Linked DNA regions of Homo sapiens: all the other regions are linked to region 5. The links are contacts of gene promoters, found by promoter capture Hi-C in blood cells and fetal thymus (Javierre and others, 2016). All regions are on one chromosome and are shown on one strand. Each heading gives the region's core, a stretch centred on a gene start or on the middle of the fragment in contact. The rest is flanking DNA. Distances are from core to core; before and after follow the strand shown.

Evidence for each region. The method cuts DNA at HindIII sites, captures the fragments that hold promoters and counts their contacts. A CHiCAGO score of 5 or more calls a contact.
Region 1: a contact is called between a fragment that was not itself captured here and the fragment with the promoter of SEPTIN4-AS1 in region 5, in 1 of 17 cell types (M0 macrophages). The highest score is 6.3, in M0 macrophages.
Region 2: a fragment that was not itself captured here is called in contact with the fragment with the promoter of SEPTIN4-AS1 in region 5 in 6 of 17 cell types (M0 macrophages, M1 macrophages, activated CD4 T cells and 3 more); the score reaches 7.0 in M0 macrophages.
Region 3: a fragment that was not itself captured here is called in contact with the fragment with the promoter of SEPTIN4-AS1 in region 5 in 7 of 17 cell types (M0 macrophages, M2 macrophages, total CD8 T cells and 4 more); the score reaches 8.6 in M0 macrophages.
Region 4: a contact is called between a fragment that was not itself captured here and the fragment with the promoter of SEPTIN4-AS1 in region 5, in 6 of 17 cell types (non-activated CD4 T cells, naive CD4 T cells, total CD8 T cells and 3 more). The highest score is 7.3, in non-activated CD4 T cells.

The regions. Positions count from the first base shown.
Region 1 is chr17:58,949,540-58,952,239 of GRCh38, reverse strand. All of the region lies in intron 1 of PPM1E (protein phosphatase, Mg2+/Mn2+ dependent 1E), which reads right to left. Among named protein-coding and RNA genes, the nearest start is that of TRIM37, 160 kb to the left of the region's middle. The HindIII fragment of the contact is 4,948 bases long and covers 1-2,700 here.
Region 2 is chr17:59,028,546-59,031,245 of GRCh38, reverse strand. TRIM37 (tripartite motif containing 37) reads left to right here. Exons shown (of 24, transcript NM_015294.6): 19 at 2,523-2,700. Among named protein-coding and RNA genes, the nearest start is that of TRIM37, 77 kb to the left of the region's middle. The HindIII fragment of the contact is 6,930 bases long and covers 1-2,700 here.
Region 3 is chr17:58,969,509-58,972,208 of GRCh38, reverse strand. PPM1E (protein phosphatase, Mg2+/Mn2+ dependent 1E) reads right to left here. Exons shown (of 7, transcript NM_014906.5): 4 at 2,482-2,670; 5 at 1-77. It also overlaps a transcript of TRIM37 not described here. Among named protein-coding and RNA genes, the nearest start is that of TRIM37, 140 kb to the left of the region's middle. The HindIII fragment of the contact is 2,496 bases long and covers 161-2,656 here.
Region 4 is chr17:58,991,489-58,994,188 of GRCh38, reverse strand. It overlaps a transcript of TRIM37 not described here. Among named protein-coding and RNA genes, the nearest start is that of TRIM37, 110 kb to the left of the region's middle. RefSeq lists a silencer at 492-692. The HindIII fragment of the contact is 953 bases long and covers 858-1,810 here.
Region 5 is chr17:58,518,429-58,521,128 of GRCh38, reverse strand. It overlaps SEPTIN4-AS1 (SEPTIN4 antisense RNA 1), which reads right to left and starts at 1,292. Exons shown (of 5, transcript NR_110810.1): 1 at 1,152-1,292. SEPTIN4 (septin 4) reads left to right here. Exons shown (of 14, transcript NM_001368771.2): 12 at 1-131; 13 at 287-386; 14 at 644-873. The coding sequence ends at 703. It also overlaps a transcript of MTMR4 not described here. RefSeq lists enhancers at 2,541-2,640, 1,988-2,700. The HindIII fragment of the contact is 4,387 bases long and covers 365-2,700 here.

The DNA of each region.
Region 1 (2,700 bases), core at 125-2,624, 430 kb before region 5:
TGATGTGCATGCACATGTCCCTGACCTAAGAAATAGTCCAATGGTCCCAACCCCAGTAAAGCTACATGACTTCTGCCATAAACTCTAACAGCCTAGGCCATTGGGATACTCACAAACATCACTAGTGCAGATTACAGCAAAAGAAACTACAACACTGTGTCCACCTAGAACCATAGCCAATGCAGCCATCCAACTGATGCCCCAAGACCCATCCACATGACTAAATCTTTCCCTATGAAAACTACTCCATAAGATTGGAAGAGGTGACTGTTCCACCAGATGTGTAGAAATCAACATAGGGACACATCAAATGTGAAAAATTGAGGAAACATGACTCCTCCAAATGCACACAATAATTTTCCAGGAACAAACCCCAATCGTAAGGAATATATAAAATGCCAGAAAAAGAATTCAAAATAATAATCTTTTCTTAAAAATTTGAGATGAAGGTCTCACGATACTGCATAGGCTGGAGTGCAGTGGCTATTCATAGGCATCCTACTGTTAATTGGCATATGTGTTTTGATCTGCTCCATTTATTTTTCTTTCTTTTTTTTTTTTTTTTTAAAGAGAGTCTCACTCTGTTGCCCAGGCTGGAATGCAGTGGTACAATCTTGGCTCACTGCAACCTCCACCTCCTGGGCTTAAGCAATCCTCCCACCTCAGCCCCCGCAAGTAGCTGGAACTACAGGCATGAGCCACCAGCCTAATTTTTGTATTTTTTGTAGAGACGAGGTTTCACCATGTTGCCCAGACTGGTCTCGAACTCCTAAGCTCAAGCAATTCACCCATCTCAGTCTCCCAAATTGCTGAAATTATAGGTGTGAGCCACCACACCTGGCTGACCTGCTCTATTTCTGACCTGAGCTGGTTCATCCCTCCCTAAGCAACCTGATGGTTCTCTGCTCCCAGAAGGTCACCATATTGATGCCAAACTTAGTGTAGACACCAGATTAGCATAATGCACTATAGGCCAGAACTCCTGGACTCAGGCAATCCTCCTGCTGCAGCCTCCCAAGGAGCCAGGACTATAGGCATGAGCCATCACATGTGGCTCAAAATAATCATGTTAAGGAAACGCAATGAGATACAAGAGAATACATATAGAACAGTTAACAAAAATCAGAGAAATTCAACAAAGAGATATCATTAAAAAAGAACCGGCCAGGTGTGGTGGCTCACGCCTGTAATCCCAGCACTTTGGGAGGCCGAGGCGGGCAGATCACGAGGTCAGGAGATCGAGACCATCCTGGCTAACACAGTGAAACCCCGTCTCTACTAAAAATACAAAAAATTAGCCAGGCATGGTGGCGGGCGCCTGTAGTCCCAGCTACTGGGGAGGCTGAGGCAGGAGAATGGCGTGAACCCAGGAGGCGGAGCTTGCAGTGAGCAGAGATCACGCCGCTGCACTCCAGCCTGGGTGACAGAGCAAGACTCCGTCTCAAAAAAAAAAAAAAAAAAAGAACCAAACAGGAATCTTAGAGCTGAAGAATTCAATGAATGAAATAAAAAATACAATAAAGAGCTTCAACAGCAGACTAGACCAAACAGAAGAAAAAATTTTTGAACTTGAAGACAGGTCTTTTGAAAAAACTCAGGCAGAAAAAAAAAGAAAGAAAAGAAAAAAGAATGAAAACAGCATATAGGATTTATGGGACACCATTAAGCAAACAAATAATTGCATTATGGGCATTCCAGAAGGAGAAGAAAAGAGAGATGGTGTAGAAAATATACTTAATGACATAATAACTGAAAACTTCGTAGGTCTTGGGAGAGACACAGATATTCAGATCCAGGAAGCTGGAAAGTTCCCACATAGATTCAACCCAAACAAGTCTTCTCTAAGGCACATTATAGTCAAAAAATAATTTTTTTTTTGAGACAGAGTTTCATTCTTGTAGCCCAGGCTGGAGTGCAATGGTGCAATTTTCGGCTCACTGCAACCTGTCTCCTGGGTTCAAGCAATTCTCCTGCCTCAGCCTCCTGAGTAGCTTGGATTACAGGCACCCGCCATCATGCCCAGCTAATTTTTGTATTTTTAGTAGAGACAGGGTTTCACCATGTTGGTCAGGCTGGTCTCAAACTCTCAACTTCAGGTGATCCACCTGCCTTGGCCTTCCAAAGTGCTGGGAATACAGGCATGAGCCACCACACCCAGCTGTCAAATTGTCAAAAGGTAAAGACAAAGAAATAATTCTAAAAGAGAATTCCTTTTCAAAAGAAAAGCATCAAGTCATATATAAGGGAATCTCCATTAGACTAGCAGCAGCTTTCTCAGCAGAAACTTCACAGGCCAGGAGAGAAAGGGATGATATAGTCAAAGTACAGAAAGAAAAAAAACTCAGCTAGCCAAGAATATTATACCCAGGAAAGCTATTCTTCAAAAATGAAGGAGAAATAAAATCTTTCCTGGACAAGCAAAAAATAAGAGAATTCATCACCACTAGTCTAGTCCAAGAGAAATGTTCAAGGGCGTCTTACATCTGGAAATAAAAAGATGATAACTGCCCTCATGAAGATATGTGAAATTATAAAATTCACCAGGAGAGCCAACAGAGAAAGAAGAAAGAGAAAGGAATAAATAATCTTATCACTACAGAAAACAACCCAACCACAAAAATAAATAATAGGAGGGGAAGGAACAAAGGTTACACAAAATACTCAGAAAACAGTCAATAAATGTCTGGAGTAAGTCCTCAT
Region 2 (2,700 bases), core at 201-2,700, 510 kb before region 5:
CTACCTTCTTAAACAATAGTATTATATACATCAAATCAATGATTTAGAACTCTGATTTTGATGTAGTTTTAAGGCAAGATAACTCATTTTTCAATCAAAGTCCAAGGCAGAACCTCTGTGTAAATAACAGAGAAATAGAGCTCTTCTACTGGTGTAGGGACATGGAGCCCAGATTATTTAGGCTTCTTCTTTCCTAAGAGCCAGATATACTTCCTGAAAGTCTGGATCCTCAGCTTAAAAGACTATCTTCAGGTTATGAAACAGTTGCCTTTTATGTGTGCGCCAAGTATGCTTTATATAAAGTTTTACTTAAATGTTAAGTGTTGTTTGCAAAGGCCCAGTGAAACAGACAGGTTCTGATTCTGTAGGTAGATATGTAAGTTGGTTTAACCTTTTTGAAGGACAATTTTGTAGTAGTTTAAAAATATCTATATCCTTTAAACTTGTAATTTCACTTTGAGGAGTATATTCCAAAGAGAAAACAAGCAGATGTTTAAAAATATTCAACAATACAGTTATAGCTGAATAAATTACAGTGTAACCATGCAATGGTATATTTTATAGACAAGTAAAATCGTGTTTTTGAAAATAATCAGTATCATTGGGAAAAATGCAAACTAAATAGTAAGATTTCTGTGTAAAACTAGTTTTCTGTGTAAAAACAATACAAATGAGATGATCTGAATTTCAAATTTAGGTGATAAAATGCTGGCAATAATGAGGGCGGGGAAAATAGTAGAAAGAAAAAGCAAGTTTTGGATTTAAACATCTTGAGTTGGGCATAACAGTGTGACATCAAATTAGAAAGGACCAGTAGACAGCTAAAAATTAAGAACTGGGGCTGGGCGCAGTGGCTCACGCCTGTAATCTCAACACTTGGGGAGGCTGAGGCGGGTGGATCACCTGAGGTCAGGAGTTCGAGACCAGCCTAGCCAACATGGTGAAACCCTGTCTCTACTAAAAATACAAAAAATTAGCCGGCCATTGTGGCAGGTGCCTGTAATCCCAGCTACCTGGGAAGCTGAGGCAGGAGAATGGCTTAAACCTGGGAGTCGGAGGTTGCAGTGAGCCGAGATCGTGCCATTGCACTCCAGCCTGGGCAACGAGTGAAACTCCATGAAAAAAAAAAATGAACTGGAATACAGACAGTTATTTTTCTGGAGGTGATACTGGATAATTAAAACCAAGGGTGTGAGATTGCAAAGGAGTTTTAAGAATATTTTAAAAGAAGAGAGCCAGGAACATAATCCTGATGAATATCTGTTTTTACTGAGTGTCAGGAAGATGAGCCAGATAAAGAGCTTTTAGAAAGGAGAAAAAATACTCATGGAAGCCAAATGAAAATACCTTTCAGTGAAGGGATGTTAATAAAAGCTAGTGTGCAGAAATATATGACTTTCTTTTTATTGAAAAGGCTTGCTTGGGTCATTTTTTGTTTGATTGATTGTTTGTTTGTTTTTGAGACAGAGTCTCACTCTGTTGCCCAGGCTGGAGTGCTCTACAATTTTTTGTAGAGACAGGTTTCACCATGTTGGCCAGGTTTGTCTCAAAACTCCTGAGCTCAAGTGATCCACCTGCCTCGGCCTCCCAAAGTGTGCTGGGATTATAGGCGTGAGCCACTGCACGTGGCCTGCTTGGGCTTTGATGTTTATTTTTTTCTGTGTATTTATTTAACACATATTTAGTGAACATTTGTCAGATTAACTTCATGTTCTTAACCATGTAAAGGAGTACTGTAAAAGGTATCAGGTAATCTAGTTGAACCAGATTTTAAGGTACATATAGTGGTAAGTAGAACTAGAGTCATGTTGGGTCCATTCTATGAAAGGACTTGCATGCTAGCCGGAGGAATTTATTCATACTAGGCATGGAGAGCTATTGTTTTATTTTAGAAGTGGTTAGATTCAAACCGTATTTCAGAAAGCTGACAGTTCTGAGAAAATTATCAGAAATGGAAGTTCTAATAAAAAAATTTTTTTTTGTACAGATAGGGTGTCACTATGCTCCCCTGGCTGATCTTGAACTTCTGGCCTCAAGCGATTCTCTCACCTCAGCCTCCTGAAGTGCTGGGATTACAGGCATAAGCCACTGCACCTGGCCAGAAATATGTATTTTTAATATAATGTTATATATGGCAGATTTGACAAAGTATTTGGTTTCTAGATTTTTCTTTGTCTTTTTTTTCAATTATAAACATAATAAAAGCTCTGTAGAAAGTTTCAGAAAAGTGGAGAAGTTTAAAGAAGAAAGCACAAGGCAGTAGGGCAGCTTTTAAACTTTTAGAATTAAATGTGTAATTCGAACTTGAGTATGATGTGACTCAGATTCTAACTCTGAAGGTGTGAATAAGGTAGGATTCTTTATCTTTATTTTCATTAATGGAATTTAGTGCATGTTTTATTGTTGATACCACGTAAAGCACGCTAGCTTATTTTACACATCAAATTTGCATATATTCATGGTACAAATGATTTCATTAATATTAACGTTTATGTTAACATGACTTGTCAATTTCTCTGAAGCATCATATTCTCGAAAAGATAAAGACCAAAGGAAGCAACAGGCAATGTGGCGAGTGCCCTCTGATTTAAAGATGCTAAAAAGACTCAAAACTCAAATGGCCGAAGTTCGATGTATGAAAACTGATGTAAAGAATACACTTTCAGAAATAAAAAGCAGCAGTGCTGCTTCTGGAGACAT
Region 3 (2,700 bases), core at 159-2,658, 450 kb before region 5:
GAATCACCCACCCAGGCCACATGTAGCATGTTGCCTCTGATGAAAGTCACCACTCCTGTGGTCCCACATCTTAAGCTCTGAAAACAGTTTAAATAAAACTAGACTCAGTGAAAAGAAATAGATACTACATTCTTATTGAGAAGCAATTTATAATTAAGCTTTTCAGCTGGGAGCTATACTATTAATAATGGAATTTCACACATATATAATAATTCATTGTCTCAATGCATTTGTATATGCATGTATGTATTTATGTGTATATACACACATAAGTCCACCTGATCTGTGATATGCAGGGCGAGGATGATTATTAATTCCACTTTAAATATAGATAAGAAAACTATGGCAGGTTATGTGACTTGCCCAAGGGCAGGTAACTATTAGTATATAAGACAGAATTGAAATTCTTTTTCCTCCCAGTCAAGCACTAAATCCTCTATACCAATCCTCAGAGTAAAAATTTCTATATTCTGCTCTCCATTTCATTACTGACATCGTATTTGTTCAGTGGGAGAGTCCTAGCTGTATAAAATGATATATAAAACATCTGATTGGTACACAACAGATGCTCTAATCTCTGGAAATTAAGCTAAGGGGCCAAGAGACAGCTTACGTTCCCTGGAGTACTAAGATGCTTATACCTTTAAAAAAATATCCTTCCTACAGTATTTTTAGGGGTCTTTGCTTTTGGAACATTGCATAAAGAACTAACAGCCTGGAATTTCACTGCAGTAGCTACGACTGTACTTAAAGCTCTTGGTCCTACTATACGAAAATGACATCCCCATTTGACATGAGTCACCACCAAATGAGCATGACTTTCTGTTACTAAGGACCTGGCCTAAATTAGAACCAATGCGTCAGGGGTGGTAAAAGGTCTCTTGTATCCAATGAGAAAAACAACTTCTCGTTTTCCCTATATAGGGAAAGTTTGTTATAAATCCTCACCCACCAATAAAATGTCTTCCCACACAGAATGTTCAAAAACTCAGCCCCCTAGAACACATGATAAACACACTTCAGTGCATATGCCCTGGAGAGAACAGGAGGCAGGGCTGCTTCATAACAGGAATAGCTGTTTTCTTCCCAGCAGTTAGCAGCACATGGAAGCATAAGAAGGAGAAAAGGGGCGCTGAGACAAACCTAAATTATTCAGAACTATTGGCAGAACTGAGAGACACCAGGGTCACTGACAAAACAAATGAGGTAAACATGGTCAGAAAACAACAACAACAACAACAACACATAATTTTGAGAAGACAGAGGAAAAAAAGAATAGAATAGAGGATGAAGAAGACAGAGTGAATCTCTTTGTTTCACATTGATGATTACGGGTCACCTCTCAGGGGCCGGCCCTTGTCCTCGACTCAGATGATAAAAGCCCACAGCTTCAAGAGAGGCAGAGCCAAGCAGAATGCAGGTCCTCAAGAGACTGGAGCTCTGAGGTCAAGAGTGGCTTTATTCTCCAGACCCACCTCTTTGTGTGGACTCTACTGGTTACTGTTGGATTTGCATATTAATCCAAACTTAGGGGAGGGGAGAGATGAAGAATAATTCTCTTTCTTAATACCAAATAGGTCTGAGTTATTGTTTCATTAATTCTAAGCCCCATTATTGCTTGTAGCATAACTATGCTATCAAAAAATGGATTAAATGATTACCCTGATCTCTCCAAGCCCATTTTAAAAAGAGTTAATGTTTAAGTCACAGGGCAGGAGTCTTATTTTTTGTCTGTATCTACTTCTGTAATTATTTTTAAAAATTAAAAATTCTTTTATTCGTCCCCAGTTAAAAATCCAATATAGAACACTGTAGTTAATTATGTACCAATACCCAGAACGATAATTAGATTAATTTTTTTACTTTTAGACCTTAATATAGAGCCCTTGCCATTTATTCAAAGTAAAAAAAACTTAGGTCTGATTAACCTTCGCAATGTAGGACATGAGCTCTTCTTTTCTCCCTATTAAGAGAAAAATCAGCTCAAGGATCATTTAAGGATTCACCCTCTCCAAGCGAATTTTCCCTCAAGAGATACACAGCAAAACACTGCCTACCCATTTAGAACCAAATGTATGGAAGTAATCCCAGTTTCTGTTTCTTTTTTAGACCATTGTTTTATTCACCATATCCAGATCTTGTCAGCAAGAGTCTGCTTAGAGAGATGGTCCTGGTGTGAACCTGACAGGCAATGGTGAATAAAAGAAAGATGAAACTCACCTGCCAAATCCAGCAGTTATTACAGAAATGAATCCAGAAAATTACAGCTTGAGATTTTCTATACAGTACCTCATTGTACCCCCTGAAACTCTTCCTGAGGAGGGAATTGGAACTACAACAGAATCCAATACTGTGAGTCAAGAATACAGTTTGGATAATGTCTGCCCAGAAAGAGAAAATCTAAATAGCCCTTTAACCACACAGACCAAATTGAGCTCAGCTAGTACATTTCTAGCTGGAACTTATGAGAAAGGGGCATACCTCCCTGGCTGCTTTCTGCACAAACCGCTCATCAGTGACCCGGAAGGCCCTGCACAGGGCCTCAGCAGGATCATGGGGGAACATCTCCTGGCGGACTAAGTTAACGTGGAGGTGAATGGAGGCATAAATAGCAGCATCTACTCCCCCATGGCCATCAAACACTGCAAAGTAAGCTTGTTCTTCCTGGTCCTGTCAACAGAAACACAGAACAGTTATGGG
Region 4 (2,700 bases), core at 85-2,584, 470 kb before region 5:
TGGTAACAGTTCAGCTCCAGAGGCCTCATTCTGGCCTTCCCTCTTATTTATAATGCCTTTCTCTGACAGAAGCCTAGCTCTCATTAGCTACAATATATGTATGTACTTGTTCAACCCTAATATACAAGTAGCTTCAGAACCGTTGGCCTCCTGTGGATTCCAGGCTATGCCCTACAAAAAACAGATTTACCACCTAAAATACAGTGCTTGTATACAGTTCTTTTAGTCTTTAGCTTTTCAGTATTGTGTCATAACATTTTTTTCAAAGATATTTAGGTTCAAAATTACATTAGTTCTGTTCTTTCACAAAATCCCTTCATTGTGATTTTGTGCTTCGTTGGTGTAACAGGTTCATCTGTTATGGTCTACATTCTGTCCTCCCCCACATATCCTGGTTAATTTGTAAATTTACATACATTAAAATTCAGTCTTTCTGGCATACAGTTCTGTGGGTTTCAACAAATGTCTTGTATCCGCCACCACAATACTATACAGAACATTTCAGTCACCCCCAAGATTCCCCTGTGCTGGCCCTTTATAGGTAACCACCCCCCTTCCCCACAGCTCCTGGCTACCGCTGATCTGATCTGATCTGATCTGTTCTCTGCCCTTTTAGTTTTTGCTTTTCCAGAGTCATGTAAACGGGATCACAGTTTGACCTCTCGCTTCGCAAAGTGCAGTTAAGTTTCACTCATCTTGTGTGAATCAGCACCTCCTTCTTTTTTATTGCTGAGCAGTAGTAGTCCACTGTGTGGATATACCACTGTTCATTCATTTGCCCATTTGGGTTATTTCTAGTTTAGGGTGATTAGACTCTTGTAAACGTTTGGGTACAGATTTTTGTGTGAGTGTAAGCTTTTATTCTCTAGAGTGTTACATGCTGTATTAGTCTGTTTTCATGCTGCTGATAAAGATATACCCGAGACTGGGCATTTTACAAAAGAAAGAGGTTTATTGGACTTACAGTTCCACGTGGCTGGGGAGGCCTCACAATCATGGCAAAAGGTAAAAGGCACATCTCATGTGGTGGCAGACGAGAGCTTGTGCAGGGAAACTCCCCCTTATAAAACCATCAGATCTCATGAGGCTTATTCAGTATTACAAAAACAGCACAGGAAAGTCTTGCCCCCATGATTCAATTACCTCCCACTGGGTCCCTCCCATGATATGTGGGAATTCAAGATGAGATTTGGGTGGGGACACAGCCAAACCATATATGCCTAGGGACAGGATTGCTGGGTGTGCAATAGAGAATTTGTCTGGCCTTTGTCCTAGTTCCTGGGAAGTGCCCTCTAAATCCTTGGCATTCCTCAAGTGTTAGGAGTTATTTATGGTGGGCCTTGCTAGTGTATGCTAATGAGATGACTCAGGATCGGGGCTGGCTACACCAGAAATGCTGTGGGTGTCATTAGACAGTTGGAGCTCTGAACCATGTGATAGCCCAGTTCAACTCATTGCCAATGATTGTTATGCCTACATAAGGAAGTTCCAGTAAAAAATCTGGACACCTGCCGGGCACAGTGGCTCACGCCTGTAATCCCAGCACTTTGGGAGGCCGAGGAAGGCAGATTACCTGAGGTCGGGAGTTCGAGACCAGCCTGACCAACATGGAGAAACCCTATCTTTACTAAAAATACAAAACTAGCCAGGCGTGGTGGCGCATGCCTGTAATCCCAACTACTTGGGAGACTGAGGCAGAAGAATCACTTGAACCCGGGAGGTGGAGGTTGCCGTGAACCAAGATTGTGCCATCGCACTCCAGCCTGGGCAAAAAGAGTGAAACTCCGTCTCAAAACTGGACACTAAAGCTTGAGTGAGTTTCCCTGGTTGACAGTACTCTGTATTTATATATATATATATATATATTTACATATGTATTTATATATATATAAATATATATAAATATAAATATATATATATTTATATTTATATATATATATATCAGTGTGCCTGGAGAGTAAGTTGTCCTGAAGTCAAGGGGCCTTCACATTTGGGCCTCTCCCAGGCCTCACCCTATGTATCTCTCCCTTTAGCTGGCTTTATTTGTAACCTTTTGTCATAATGAAACTCTGATCATAAGTGCATTTCTGAGTTCTGTGAGTTGTTCTAGTCAATTATTAAACATGAGTAGGATAGCAAATACGCCCAAATTTGTAATCAGCTGATCAGAAGTGAGGGTGGCCTCAGGATCCCGGAACTTGGAGCTTGTGTCTGGAATGAGGGCAGTCTTGTGGAAGACTTTGCCCATAACCTGTACAGTTTGACCTAACTCCGGGTGGTTGGTGTCAGCACTCATTGCACTGAGTCATATGGTAAGTAGAGTCTTTACTGAGACGCTGCCCAACCTCCACAGTGACATACCATTCTGCATTCCCATCAGTAGCACATGAGAGTTCCAGTGGCATCTCACAAATATTTGGCACTGCCAGAAGTTTTTTAGCCATTCTTTTTGGTTTTTCTTCTAACCAACTGAGCTAACCAGCCATTTTTTAGCCATTCTAATAGGTGTGTAATGGTATTTGTTTTGCTAATATTTTGCCAGAACTTTTCCATCTATATTCAGAGCGATCCTGGTCTGAAATTTTCTGTCGTCATCTGATTTGGTGTCAGAGTAATGCTGACCTCATAAAATGAGTGTTCTATTTTCTGGAAAAGAGGGTGTAGAATTGGTGGTATTTATTTATTATTACTTTTTTTTTA
Region 5 (2,700 bases), core at 43-2,542:
CTGAGGACAATGCTGGTACGTACCCACATGCAGGACCTGAAGGATGTGACACGGGAGACACATTATGAGAACTACCGGGCACAGTGCATCCAGAGCATGACCCGCCTGGTGGTGAAGGAACGGAATCGCAAGTATGACCAGAAGCCAGGACAAAGCTGGCAGGGGGAGATCCCAAGCCTAGCCTTGGGTGAGACCAAGCCCTACTTTTGTTCTTCTATAGGCCCTGGGCTCAATCTAAGCGGGTGCTGGGGTCCTCCTCGCCTTATCAACCCTTTTCTCCCTTTAGCAAACTGACTCGGGAAAGTGGTACCGACTTCCCCATCCCTGCTGTCCCACCAGGGACAGATCCAGAAACTGAGAAGCTTATCCGAGAGAAAGATGAGGAGGTGAGAGCAGTATGGGGTATAGGGGAGGTCTCCTGTTTGATCACCAACGTTGGTATCTCTTTGTTTGGTAATAGAAAGATCCCTGGCTCTGGTGCATATTTGGGTCCTGGATAGGTCAATAGGTGGTTCTGTCCAGAGTCTCCATCACACCTCACGGCTACCAAGGTTCTGGCTTAAGGGATTAGAAATTTGGGGCACTTTCCCAATACTAAAGGACTCTCCAAAAGTCCCCATTTTGATGCCTGTGCCTATTCCAGCTGCGGCGGATGCAGGAGATGCTACACAAAATACAAAAACAGATGAAGGAGAACTATTAACTGGCTTTCAGCCCTGGATATTTAAATCTCCTCCTCTTCTTCCTGTCCATGCCGGCCCCTCCCAGCACCAGCTCTGCTCAGGCCCCTTCAGCTACTGCCACTTCGCCTTACATCCCTGCTGACTGCCCAGAGACTCAGAGGAAATAAAGTTTAATAAATCTGTAGGTGGCTTCTGGTGTCCCTGTGTGTATTTTTATGACCTGGAGATCAAGATCCTGGGACCCAGTTTTGAAAGGCTAATGGTAGAAGATGTTGGTTTCTGGCTTTTAGTAGGGAAGGGAGAGTGGGGAAAACTTTCCACTTCCTTTCCCCTTCTAAGTCCCTGCTTAGAATCCAGCCTGGCTTCTCCATCTTGACGATCATATCTATCATGCCTCTGTTATCTGGGGTCTGGGTCTCTCTCCATCTTTCACACATACAGTACCTTTGGTAATAAAAAGATTCCTACCTGTGGTGCATATTTGGGTCCTGGATAGGTCAACAGGTGGTTCTGTCCAGAGTCTCCCATCACACCTCAGGGCTACCAAGGTCCTGGCTTAAGGGATTAGAAATTTGGGGCACTTCTCCTGGCTAAGGAGAAAGTGAAACCCTGTCTCTACTAAAAATACAAAATAGCCGGGCGTGGTGGCGGGCGCCTGTAGTCCCAGCTACTCGGGAGGCTGAGGCAGGAGAATGGCTGAACCCGGGAGGCGGAGCTTGAAGTGAGCTGAGATGGCGCCACTGCACTCCAGCCTGGGTGACAGGGCGAGACTCCGTCTCAAAAAAAAAAAAGAAAAATAAAAAGAAAAAGAAATTTGGGGCACTTCCCCAATATTAAAGGACTGTCCAAAAGTCCCCCCTGCCCTTTTTTTTTTTGAGGCGGAGTCTCGCTCTGTCGCCCAGGCTGGAGTGCAACGGCGCTATCTCGGCTCACTGCAAGCTCCGTAGCTGGGACTACAAGACTCCGTAGCTGGGACTACAGGCGCCCGCCACCACGCCCGACTAATTTTTTGTATTTTTAGTAGAGACGGGGTTTCACCGTGTTAGCCAGGATGACCTCGATCTCCTGACCTTGAGATCCGCCCGCCTCGGCCCCCCAAGGTGCTGGGATTACAGGCATGAGCCACCGCGCCCGGCCCAAAAGGCCCCATTTTGATGCCTGTGCGTATTCCAGCTGCGGCGGACGCAGTTTTGTATTTGATACCTGCCCTTGGGAAAACACAAGGTATTAACTGCGTGCAACCTCCTGACTTTCTGTTTCCCCTGATCTGGGAAAAGGGATAGGCAGGTTAAGCTCTACACTGTAGAAAGCCTGTGATAGAGCTTTGAACAAATGCTGCAGCCATTGTAATCACCAAACACTATAGTAAGTGCTGGGAATGAATAAAAACACAATCACCGTCCTACAGGAGTTCAGTATTTAATTAAAAAATTTACAGCATCTGCTAGATTGCAGGCTGTTCTAGACCCTGGAGTTCAAGTAGTGCAAAGTTCCTGTCTTCCTGGAACTTACCAACAGTACTGGAGTTTCAACGTTCTATAAACAAAGATGGGTGAGGACATTAGCCCCGGGCTAATTAAAGCGCTCAGGCCCGCTCCAGACCTGAGAATATCAGCTGAATCTGAATCAACTGTTCTCCATTTCTGTCGGTTGGTGGTATCGCGGGGCCACGGCGACCTCCAGCGGCCACCCTCCGTCTTGTGGTCTGTTCTGGGTCCCCGGGAAGGAAAGGGAGGGGCGATAAGCCGGGTCCTTGGGAGCGTCCTGGTCTCCCTTCGCTTTACAGACTAGGAGGCCGCAGCTAGCTGGCAGTCTCAGATCCAGGTTTCCCATCTCTGGGATGAGAGGAGAGTTCTTCACTCAGGACTGCCAGCGCAATGCAGGTCGTGAAGAACTGCAGGGTCGTTTATCGATACAAAGTGAGTGTTGGAGGAACCCATCAAGACACAGGAAGGGGGAAATCCTAGCGCCGCCAGTCGGAGATGACCAAGACTGAACCTCAGGCCCAGCCCTCCCT